3 separate regions of the Homo sapiens genome follow, and regions 1 and 3 are each linked to region 2. Evidence: promoter capture Hi-C in 16 types of primary human blood cells and fetal thymus (Javierre and others, 2016). All regions are on one chromosome and are shown on one strand. The core of a region is centred on a gene start or on the middle of the fragment in contact, and the rest is flanking DNA. Distances in the headings are between cores, read along the strand shown.

The links. Contacts are between HindIII fragments. The CHiCAGO score rates a contact against its expected background, and 5 or more counts as called.
Region 1: a contact is called between a fragment that was not itself captured here and the fragment with the promoter of TMEM233 in region 2, in 2 of 17 cell types (endothelial precursors and erythroblasts). The highest score is 5.4, in endothelial precursors.
Region 3: a fragment that was not itself captured here is called in contact with the fragment with the promoter of TMEM233 in region 2 in 1 of 17 cell types (endothelial precursors); the score reaches 6.3 in endothelial precursors.

What each region holds. Positions count from the first base shown.
Region 1 is chr12:118,404,467-118,407,415 of GRCh38, forward strand. The region is part of intron 10 of SUDS3 (SIN3A corepressor complex component SDS3); the gene reads left to right. Among named protein-coding and RNA genes, the nearest start is that of SUDS3, 29 kb to the left of the region's middle. RefSeq lists an enhancer at 532-581. The HindIII fragment of the contact is 1,213 bases long and covers 872-2,084 here.
Region 2 is chr12:119,591,946-119,595,168 of GRCh38, forward strand. It overlaps TMEM233 (transmembrane protein 233), which reads left to right and starts at 1,829. Exons shown (of 3, transcript NM_001136534.3): 1 at 1,829-2,089. The coding sequence starts at 1,904. The region is part of intron 1 of PRKAB1-AS1 (PRKAB1, TMEM233 and CCDC60 antisense RNA 1); the gene reads right to left. RefSeq lists an enhancer at 1,817-2,390. The HindIII fragment of the contact is 1,075 bases long and covers 1,241-2,315 here.
Region 3 is chr12:118,423,260-118,426,139 of GRCh38, forward strand. No RefSeq gene overlaps it. Among named protein-coding and RNA genes, the nearest start is that of SUDS3, 48 kb to the left of the region's middle. The HindIII fragment of the contact is 2,531 bases long and covers 65-2,595 here.

The DNA of each region.
Region 1 (2,949 bases), core at 228-2,727, 1.2 Mb before region 2:
TGGAAAGGTAATGGCAAAACAGTATGAAAGAACCTTAAAAGCTCATACTTTTGTTCATTCAACAAACATTTCTTCTGTTCTGTATTACGCTTTCTGCTAGATATGAAATGGATACTGCCATCATTTCTCAGGTCTTTTCATTCTGATATATTTCTTTTTATTCTTTATCCATATGCAGGCATAGTCTATTCATTCTAAGGCATAGTGGACATACGGTTTGCTTTGCCTTTCTGTTTGGTTATATTGAGAATGTTTTTCTGGGTTACTGTAAGGTGTCTCATTATCATTTATAATGGCTATATAATGACCCTTTGAGTTTCAGTATCTAACCAAAAGTTCCAAAATTGGGGTAATGATTATTTATTTTGAATTCTTAAAAAAACCCAGCATTGTGTTAGGTTGGTTACCCGATAACATTGTACTTGTCAAAAATGCTTAGGGTTCTAGTCATGGCCGAAGTAAATCATTTCCACCTATTAAGTTGCAGTGAGTTAATTGCCCAGTAGATGCTGGAGGCTGGCTTTATCTCTAAGGCTGATCTTGATGACTTCTTCCCCTCTGAGTTGGTGTTCTTTGGCATTCTTCAGAAAGGTCGGTTTGTGTTATATCTTAACATTATGTCTCAGAACACATCGCCACTAGGTGGCAGGCTCTAACAGCTTAACACTGAGAAGGGCAAAATGAGATGAAAAATGTTTCTAATAATGAAAACCAAATAACCTTTAAAGATCAAGCCCACACATAAGAACCATCTTTGAAAATGATGAGATTTATCACTAACATTTTTACAAATCTATGAGTCTTAAAGCCATGTGATATTTCCAGTGATGTTCATTTTGTAATTGTGTTGCTTTGAATCTTCCTCTTTCTAAGCTTAATCCTCAGACTTTACGAGACATGTCTTGAGGGTGAAAATGCAGTAAAATAAAATTCTTGTTTTTTTAAAGAAGAGATCCACAATGTCTGGTGTTTCCTAATGTAAACAAAATGATCAGATTTGATGTGTTAGAACTCCTAAGCATTTTGAAGGAATTTTCACCATCTTTCTTACATTAACAGCAGAAATTTAGAAAATAATGTCACTGGATGCATTTTACTTTTTCAGTGAAATTGAAATTGCTTATTCTCTTGTTAAATATACTTTGAGAATGTTGTTTTTTTTCTCTATTCTGTATACTTTTCATTTTTGGCCTTGGCAGTCAGAGATCATAATGCAGTTGTTGAAGGTGGGTCTCCCTCTTCCCCAATGACAATTGAAAAGTGTTCCTGGGAATACTGGCTGAGGTGTTCACTGGTGCAGTGCCAGCCTCTCCCATCTCACCAGGCTCATGTTTGGCTTTTGTATCAGTTTGGAGGTTTTGTTTTTCTTTCTTTGGCAGACGTGGCCTGTGGCTGAGAGGTCAGCTACATTGCTTTATGCTCTTTCCAGAGGGTATGGAGTATTTTGGTGCAGCCGTATTTTTGGCAGAAGATGTCTTCCTGAGTTTTAAATGACTTCAGCAAAACAAATGGGATTCAGGCATCGCATCTTGGTGTGAATACTTGCCAAGCTCCCTTTCATTTTGAAAGATAAGGATCTTCCCTTTGCCTTGGTCTTATACTGCTTTTAAGGCATTCTATATCATGCTATGTAAATTTGCCTCACATTTTGATTTGGACTAATGATCTCTCAAAAAATACTGTGAAAAAGTAGCTGATATTTGAAAATAACTAATTGATGGTACGGGTGGACTTCTGTTTTTCTCTCCTTGTTTTAAATCTGGGGCTGCCTGTGAGTCAGAAACGAAGCCACCCACTTGCTCAAGAGCATTTTCCCCTTCAGCCTTCGGTCGACACAAAAGACTTAAAACAGTGAATATTTACCAGTAGAATTGGGACTCCTTGAGGTTCTGTAGCTATAACGTGGACTCACTTATTGGGGAAATAAAGTGTTAATACCAGGATTCTCAGTAGGATACAAAATTAAATTAATTTTCCTACCTCCTCGCCCCACTTTTGTGTCCACCTTCTTAAGAAATTGCTTTTCGAAAATAGTACAGTAGTGGTAATTTCTAGTTTTGTTCGGTTTAATAGTAGAGGTTCAAAGCTTTAAGAACTTAATTGTAGAGATTCCCAGGTCAGAATTTCCATTAGTTACAAAGTAATAGAGTCAGTTTGACATTTGGGGCTTAGTCTTTGAGGCTATTTAAATATCTTTTTTCAGCAGCTGAGTTGCAGCTTGTAAAACAGGTTAATTGGCCTAAAAAAAAAACGCACATTTTTACTACCCTGTTGATGTTGCTTCGTAGCACATTTTATATCTAAACATATTTTTAAATTTCTTCCCCCCCCTTTGATTTTTCTTTAGAAATTAAAAAGTAAATTCTTATGTTAAGGTTGTCACATACTTCTTGGTTTCATCTTTAACCGCCCCCGCCCCCCCATATGAACACTTCATTTTTTATTTTTTTGAGACAGGGTCTCACTGTCCCCCAGGCTGGCATGCAGTGGTGTGATCATAGCTCACTGGAGCCTTGATCCCCCTGGCTCAAGCGATCTTCCCACTTTGGCCTCCCGAGTAGCTGGGACTACAGTCCTCCATTACCATGCCTGGCTAATGTTTTTTTGATTTTTAGTAGAGATGAGGTCTTGCTATGTTGCCCAGGCTGTCCTCAAACTCCTGAGCTGAAGTGATCCTCCTGCCTCAGCCTCCCAAAGTGCTGGGATTACAGGTATGAGCCCTGAACACTTTAATATCTAAGGACTTATCTTTTCAGAGAATTCAAATAATTTAATAGATTTGGTATCTAGGGATAATGGTTCCCCCAAGACATCGTGTAGTGCATGAGGATCCCTTGAAGGTCTCAGAGACTGCGGTTCAGGAGGGACCTGGTGATCAGTTGGTTTGGAAGTTGGCTGCTTTGGGAAGCATGTTGGCCACCTCTACTTTGGAGCAAATAGGGACCAATG
Region 2 (3,223 bases), core at 579-3,078:
GTGTCTACTAAAAATACAAAAATTAGCTGGGCGTGGTGGCAGACACCTGTAATCCCAGCTACTCGGGAGGCTGAGGCAGAGAATTGCTTGAACCCAGGAGGTGGAGGTTGCAGTGAGCCGAGATCACACCACTGCACTCCAGCCTGGGTGACAGAGTGAGACTCCAACTCAAAGTAAAAAAAAAAAGAAGGAGGAGCCATGTGACAGCCAGGGAAAAACAGCCGAGGCAGAGGGAACAGCCAATGCAAAGACTTGGTTGAGAATTCAGTAGATGAATCTAATCTTTTAGTTACTCCCATTTTATTAATCCATCAAAATGAGAAAGAAGGCATGGCGGAGAATGTACTATTTCATCTTTGTGTGTTCACCCAGCAAGCTATACTAAGCACCTCCCTTGTACCAGGAACTGTGCCAGATGCTGACACAAAGATGAGCCAGATGACCCCTTCTCTCGGGGAGTGTGCAGTCCAATGAGGGAGGCAGATAACAAAATAAGTATGGCTCATGAGATAAGTGAGAATCTCCCAGGCAATCAGCTTATATTCTGAGAAAGCCAAGAAGATGATTAATAGTTTCAAGTATGATGATGTGAGCAATTGCTTTTGACACTGCATGATCAAATTATTTTCATTTCTTTGTGGTCCTGCAGCTCAGAATACCTGGATTTTTGGTGAAATATTAGCAAGGGATATCAAGTTTAGGATACTGTATAATGCACTATATGTTTCAGAATATAAGGAGAAATAGTATGCTAATAATAGCTAATATTTATTGAGCACATGGATTGACCTGGATAATGTACCATCTCATAGAAGAGTCACTACGACTTTATGAGGCAGGGACTATTATTTCCCCTTTTTCAGATGGAGAAATAGGGGCTTAGCAAGATGAAGGGGCTTTCCTGAAGTGACAATTTCCTAGTTCTGTCTGGATTCAAGCTTCAGTTCTGGTCCATACGGCCCTCTCATGAATAGCTTAGACACTGATACAATTGCTTTTCTCACACTAGTCCCCAAAGTGGATACCTTGTTCTTCTTCCCAGCCCACTCATCCATCTAGGTTGCCTAGGCCAGCCTGATCTACCTGCATTTCTCCCCAGGGGTCCTGCAGGTGGAAAAGTGGAAAGAAGAATTCCTTGTTTCCACACTGGGGAGGGCACCTGGACGGGCATGGACCGGGCAGTGCCCACTGACTGACTATACTGGACTCCAGTCTCTTGAGCCCCAAGTAGAATGTGGAAAGCTTTGAGGCCAAAGCTGGGCACCTGGTTCCCACCCCACCTGGGGGAGGGGGTCGGGGGGAGGAGAAATTCCTGGGGCTCAGTGTTCAAGGTCTGAGGCACAGGAGACAAATCAAATGCCCAGGCACCAGACAGTTAAGGTAAAACGTTGAAGTCAAGAGGAAGTAGTGAGTCTGTTGCCAACTGGATAGGGTTGGTCCTGTCCCATCTAAATGTATTAGAATTAAGTGGCTTTTAAAAATGAGCTGGTCATCTTCAGCCCACGGGCTGGCCAATTTGGAACTTAATGGGCCTTTGCGTCCTCCTTCCCTGAGCCTCCTTTTATTCCAGACTTCTCAGTGTGAGTCTGTGCGTCCCTCCGACGATCTCAGGGAGTGGGGTGCCTTCATCTGCCTGTTCCCTGTTCCTCAGGCTGACGCTCCCGCTGTCCTCCCCGCCTCCCCTCACTCCTTTTCTCCCTCCCTTCCTCCTTGTGGGGAGGCTCTTGGCCAGGGTCCCTGAGCCCGGGCGGGTGCTGGCAGAGGACGCAGAAGGGGTGAGGTCACGTCTCCCTTGAGCCCCGAGCCGCTGGCTTTTCAGAGCCTCGCCACAAGCCGGCGGCCAGAGCCCCAGACCACACAGACCGTGCGCTCCTCCGCCCTCCCGGCGCCGCCGGCCTCGCCCATGTCTCAGTACGCCCCTAGCCCGGACTTCAAGAGGGCTTTGGACAGCAGTCCCGAGGCCAACACTGAAGATGACAAGACCGAGGAGGACGTGCCCATGCCCAAGAACTACCTGTGGCTCACCATCGTCTCGTGTTTTTGCCCTGCGTACCCCATCAACATCGTGGCTTTGGTCTTTTCCATCATGGTGAGTGAATCACGGCCAGAGGCAGCCTGGGAGGAGAGACCCGGGCGGCTTTGAGCCCCTGCAGGGGAGTCCGCGCGCTCTCTGCGGCTCCCTTCCTCACGGCCCGGCCCGCGCTAGGTGTTCTTTGTCCTCGCACCTCCTCCTCACCTTTCTCGGGCTCTCAGAGCTCTCCCCGCAATCATCAGCACCTCCTCTGCACTCCTCGTGGTACTCAGAGCCCTGATCAAGCTTCCCCCAGGCTAGCTTTCCTCTTCTTTCCAGCTCCCAGGGTGCGTTTCCTCTCCAACCCGGGGAAGTTCTTCCGTGGACTTTGCTGACTCCTCTGACCTTCCTAGGCACTTGCCCGGGGCTTCTCAACCCTCTTTTCTAGAGCCCCAGTGCGCGCCACCCTAGCGAGCGCAGTAAGCTCATACCCCGAGCATGCAGGCTCTACGTTCCTTTCCCTGCCGCTCCGGGGGCTCCTGCTCTCCAGCGCCCAGGACTGTCTCTATCTCAGCCTGTGCTCCCTTCTCTCTTTGCTGCGCCCAAGGGCACCGCTTCCGCCACTCTCCGGGGGGTCCCCAGGCGATTCCTGATGCCCCCTCCTTGATCCCGTTTCCGCGCTTTGGCACGGCACGCTCTGTCCAGGCAACAGTTTCCTCTCGCTTCTTCCTACACCCAACTTCCTCTCCTTGCCTCCCTCCGGCGCCCCCTTTTTAACGCGCCCGAGGCTGGCTCACACCCACTACCTCTTTAGGCCTTTCTTAGGCTCCCCGTGTGCCCCCCTCACCAGCAAAGTGGGTGCGCCTCTCTTACTCTTTCTACCCAGCGCGTCGTAGTTCCTCCCCGTTTGCTGCGCACTGGCCCTAACCTCTCTTCTCTTGGTGTCCCCCAGAGCTCCCAGGCGCCCCTCCACCGCTCTGTCCTGCGCCCGGGGCTCTCCCGGGAATGAACTAGGGGATTCCACGCAACGTGCGGCTCCGCCCGCCCTCTGCGCTCAGACCTCCCGAGCTGCCCGCCTCTCTAGGAGTGGCCGCTGGGGCCTCTAGTCCGCCCTTCCGGAGCTCAGCTCCCTAGCCCTCTTCAACCCTGGTAGGAACACCCGAGCGAACCCCACCAGGAGGGCGACGAGCGCCTGCTAGGCCCTCGCCTTAT
Region 3 (2,880 bases), core at 80-2,579, 1.2 Mb before region 2:
TCAGTCCTCTTCTCTCAAACATGGTTCTTTGACCTTCCCAGAAGTGAAAGCTTATGGGAATTCAAGCTTGGTGGAGCCCTGCGGGCATATTAGGAAGGAATAAGGGCTCAAATTTATTGAGCACTTATGATGTGTTTGGGTGAGGGCTAAGTACTTTTTATACATTATTGTATTTAATATACTAAACTGCCCTGTGATGTGTGTCTTCGTGATTTCCATTTTACAGATGATGAAAATGAGGCTTGAGGAGGGGAAGTGTTCACCTCTGCACCACGTTCACACATTTCCTTTCCCCTTTGGCTTCTGTCTTCCTAATGTAGATGGCCAAAGCATAAAGGACCCTTAGTTGTCATCTTAGCCAACCCCTTCCATTTTTCGCTTCTGGAAACAGACGCCAAGCTAGAACTCAGTTCTTGTAACTCTCAATTCAACAATCTAAATGGAGAAAAGAAATCCAGTTGTGAGACTCAGAGGCAGGGGCTTGAGACAGGTTTGAATCTGGATTGAACTCTGCTGCTTACAAGCTGTGTGAACTTAGGCAAATCACATAACCTCTCGGGGCTCCAGTTTCCTCATCTAGAAAGTGGGACTAATAATAGCAAGGTTTATTGTCAAGATTAAATGAAGTCATGCAAGCAAAACAATATAATAACTATTGTGCTTCAAACAAACTCTGTAGGTCACTTGAGTGCTTTAGAAAATATAACCTGGCCAGGTGTGGTGGCTCACACCTGTAACCCCAGCACTTTGAGAGGCTGAGGTGGGAGGATCACTTGAGCCCAGCAGTTTGAGACTAGGCTGGGCAACATGATGAAATGCTGTATCTACGAAAATTATCCAGGCGTGGTGGTGTGTGCCTGTAGTCCTAGCCACTCAGGGCCTGGGGTGGGAGGATTGCTTGAGCCCGGGAGGTTGAGGCTGCAGTGAGCCATGATCGCACCACTGCACTCCAGCTTGGGAGACACAGACCCCATCCCAAAAACCAAACAAACAGAAAATGTAGCCCACACCATGCCCGTGCCGGGTGGGCATGGTTATCACAGGGATTGCCTACCCCAACTCCTGCCCCACCTGCTCAGGCAGGTCCCATTGTGCCTCAAGGATAAGCCCATGGTGAACTTCCAAGGGTACGCCATCCAGGGAAGGCCAACAGAAGCCACTAGTCAAGTGGCTTGACTAGTTCAAGACAAGCAGATCTCCAGGCATCTGTTTTCATCTTGTTAACCTTCTCACTAGAGAAGAGTTTGAATTGCTGCCTCTCTGGGTGTGTGGAGATAGCCACTGGATTGTGAGCCAGAGAGGACAGGGACTGGGGCTTTTTGTTTTTCCTCCAAATCTCCCAACACGAGTACATTGTAGGTGCCCATTGAGTGCTTGCTGAATGGAGGAATGGTTAGCTACTGCCTCCTACTTCTCGTTGCAGGACATCAATATCTTTCTAAAATCATAGTAATGTGAAGGCTATCCAGAAAGTCAAAAGGTTCCACAGAGTTGGCCACAAAACAGAGTAGCCCCCTGCCCTCTGCTTTATTTCCCCCTCCCAGAGATTATTTTATCTCTTTTGGCTGATTATTTTATCTCTTTTAGCTGATTATTTTGGTATCTAGTATCTATTTCTAAATAGGCTGCTTATTATTAAAGCTAGATATTTCAGTTCCAGGCGTTATCTACTAAATTCCCACTGTGGGGTCATCCTTCGCTCTCCCAATGTAGTTATTTCAGGATTTTCGTTAGGTCAGTATTCAACGTTTATGTTATTATGACTATGTAAATGCTAGTTGCAGCTGAGCCGTGTTGTACACTATGATTGCTTTATCTTTCCTTGACAGCTTTTCCCCCCGGGAGTTAATAACTGTCTTTTTTTTTCTTTTTGTTGTTTGCTTAGTTTTCTGTGTACTTATTACTAATTCGACCTTAAACTCTTCACCAAGTGCCCAAATTCTCCCCCTAAGGCATTCTGATGCACCAGGAATTCCAGCAATTTTGTTACCTTGAAAAATCTTCCTTCTTGAGGACCCCAATTTGCTCTGCACTGGACTGGTTCCTCCTGGCGTGGCACACAGCTGTCACTCTGGAGTTCCTGCATCACCATGCTAGAGCTCCCTTATCCCTTCTTTGGGTTTGAATCTTTCATTTTTTGTCTTCCTGTTTCTTCCTGTTTGTCTTCCTGTTTCTCTACTTTACTCGCCCATTTTGTTAAAGCACATTTCCAGCCACTTCCCAAGCAGGGTTGAAAAGACTTTCATTCTGTTCTTCTAAGTACTTGGCACTTAAAGTATATTTTAACCACCCCACCCGTTCCTTCATTTTCATTTCATTTCCTCGTGCTGTTCATTCATTATTGTTGGCATTCTCCACTGTCAGTCTTAAGACGCAGATGTTTGCATGTCTGTGTTAATCTACTTTCCATCCACTAAAATTTGGTTGTTTCTTCTGCAATGCCCTTTATTTTGGTGGGTTTAATTCTAGTCTGGACATTTTTCTTCAAGATTTTGAAGACATTGTTTTATTGCTTTTAGCTTCCAATGTTGCCCTTGAGAAGTCAGAATTATTCTGACTATTGATTCTTCTAGATGACTTCTTAACATCTCTGGAAGCTTATAGCATTCTCAGTGTTTTGAAGTTTCATGATGATGGGCCTTGGTGTGGGCCCACTATGTTAAGCTGTTAGGAGGTCTTTCTTTCTTTTTATCATCTGGGGAGAATCAGTGCTTATGAGGGTTTTTCAATTCTGAAAATGTATGCCCTTATATTCTGGGGGAGAAATATATATATAATGTGATAGTCAGCCTCCAAATGGCTTCCAGTGATCCTGTCTCTGGTAGTCACACCCTTGTGCAGTTTACCCTTGTACTGGACCAGGGTTGATCTCTGTGACCA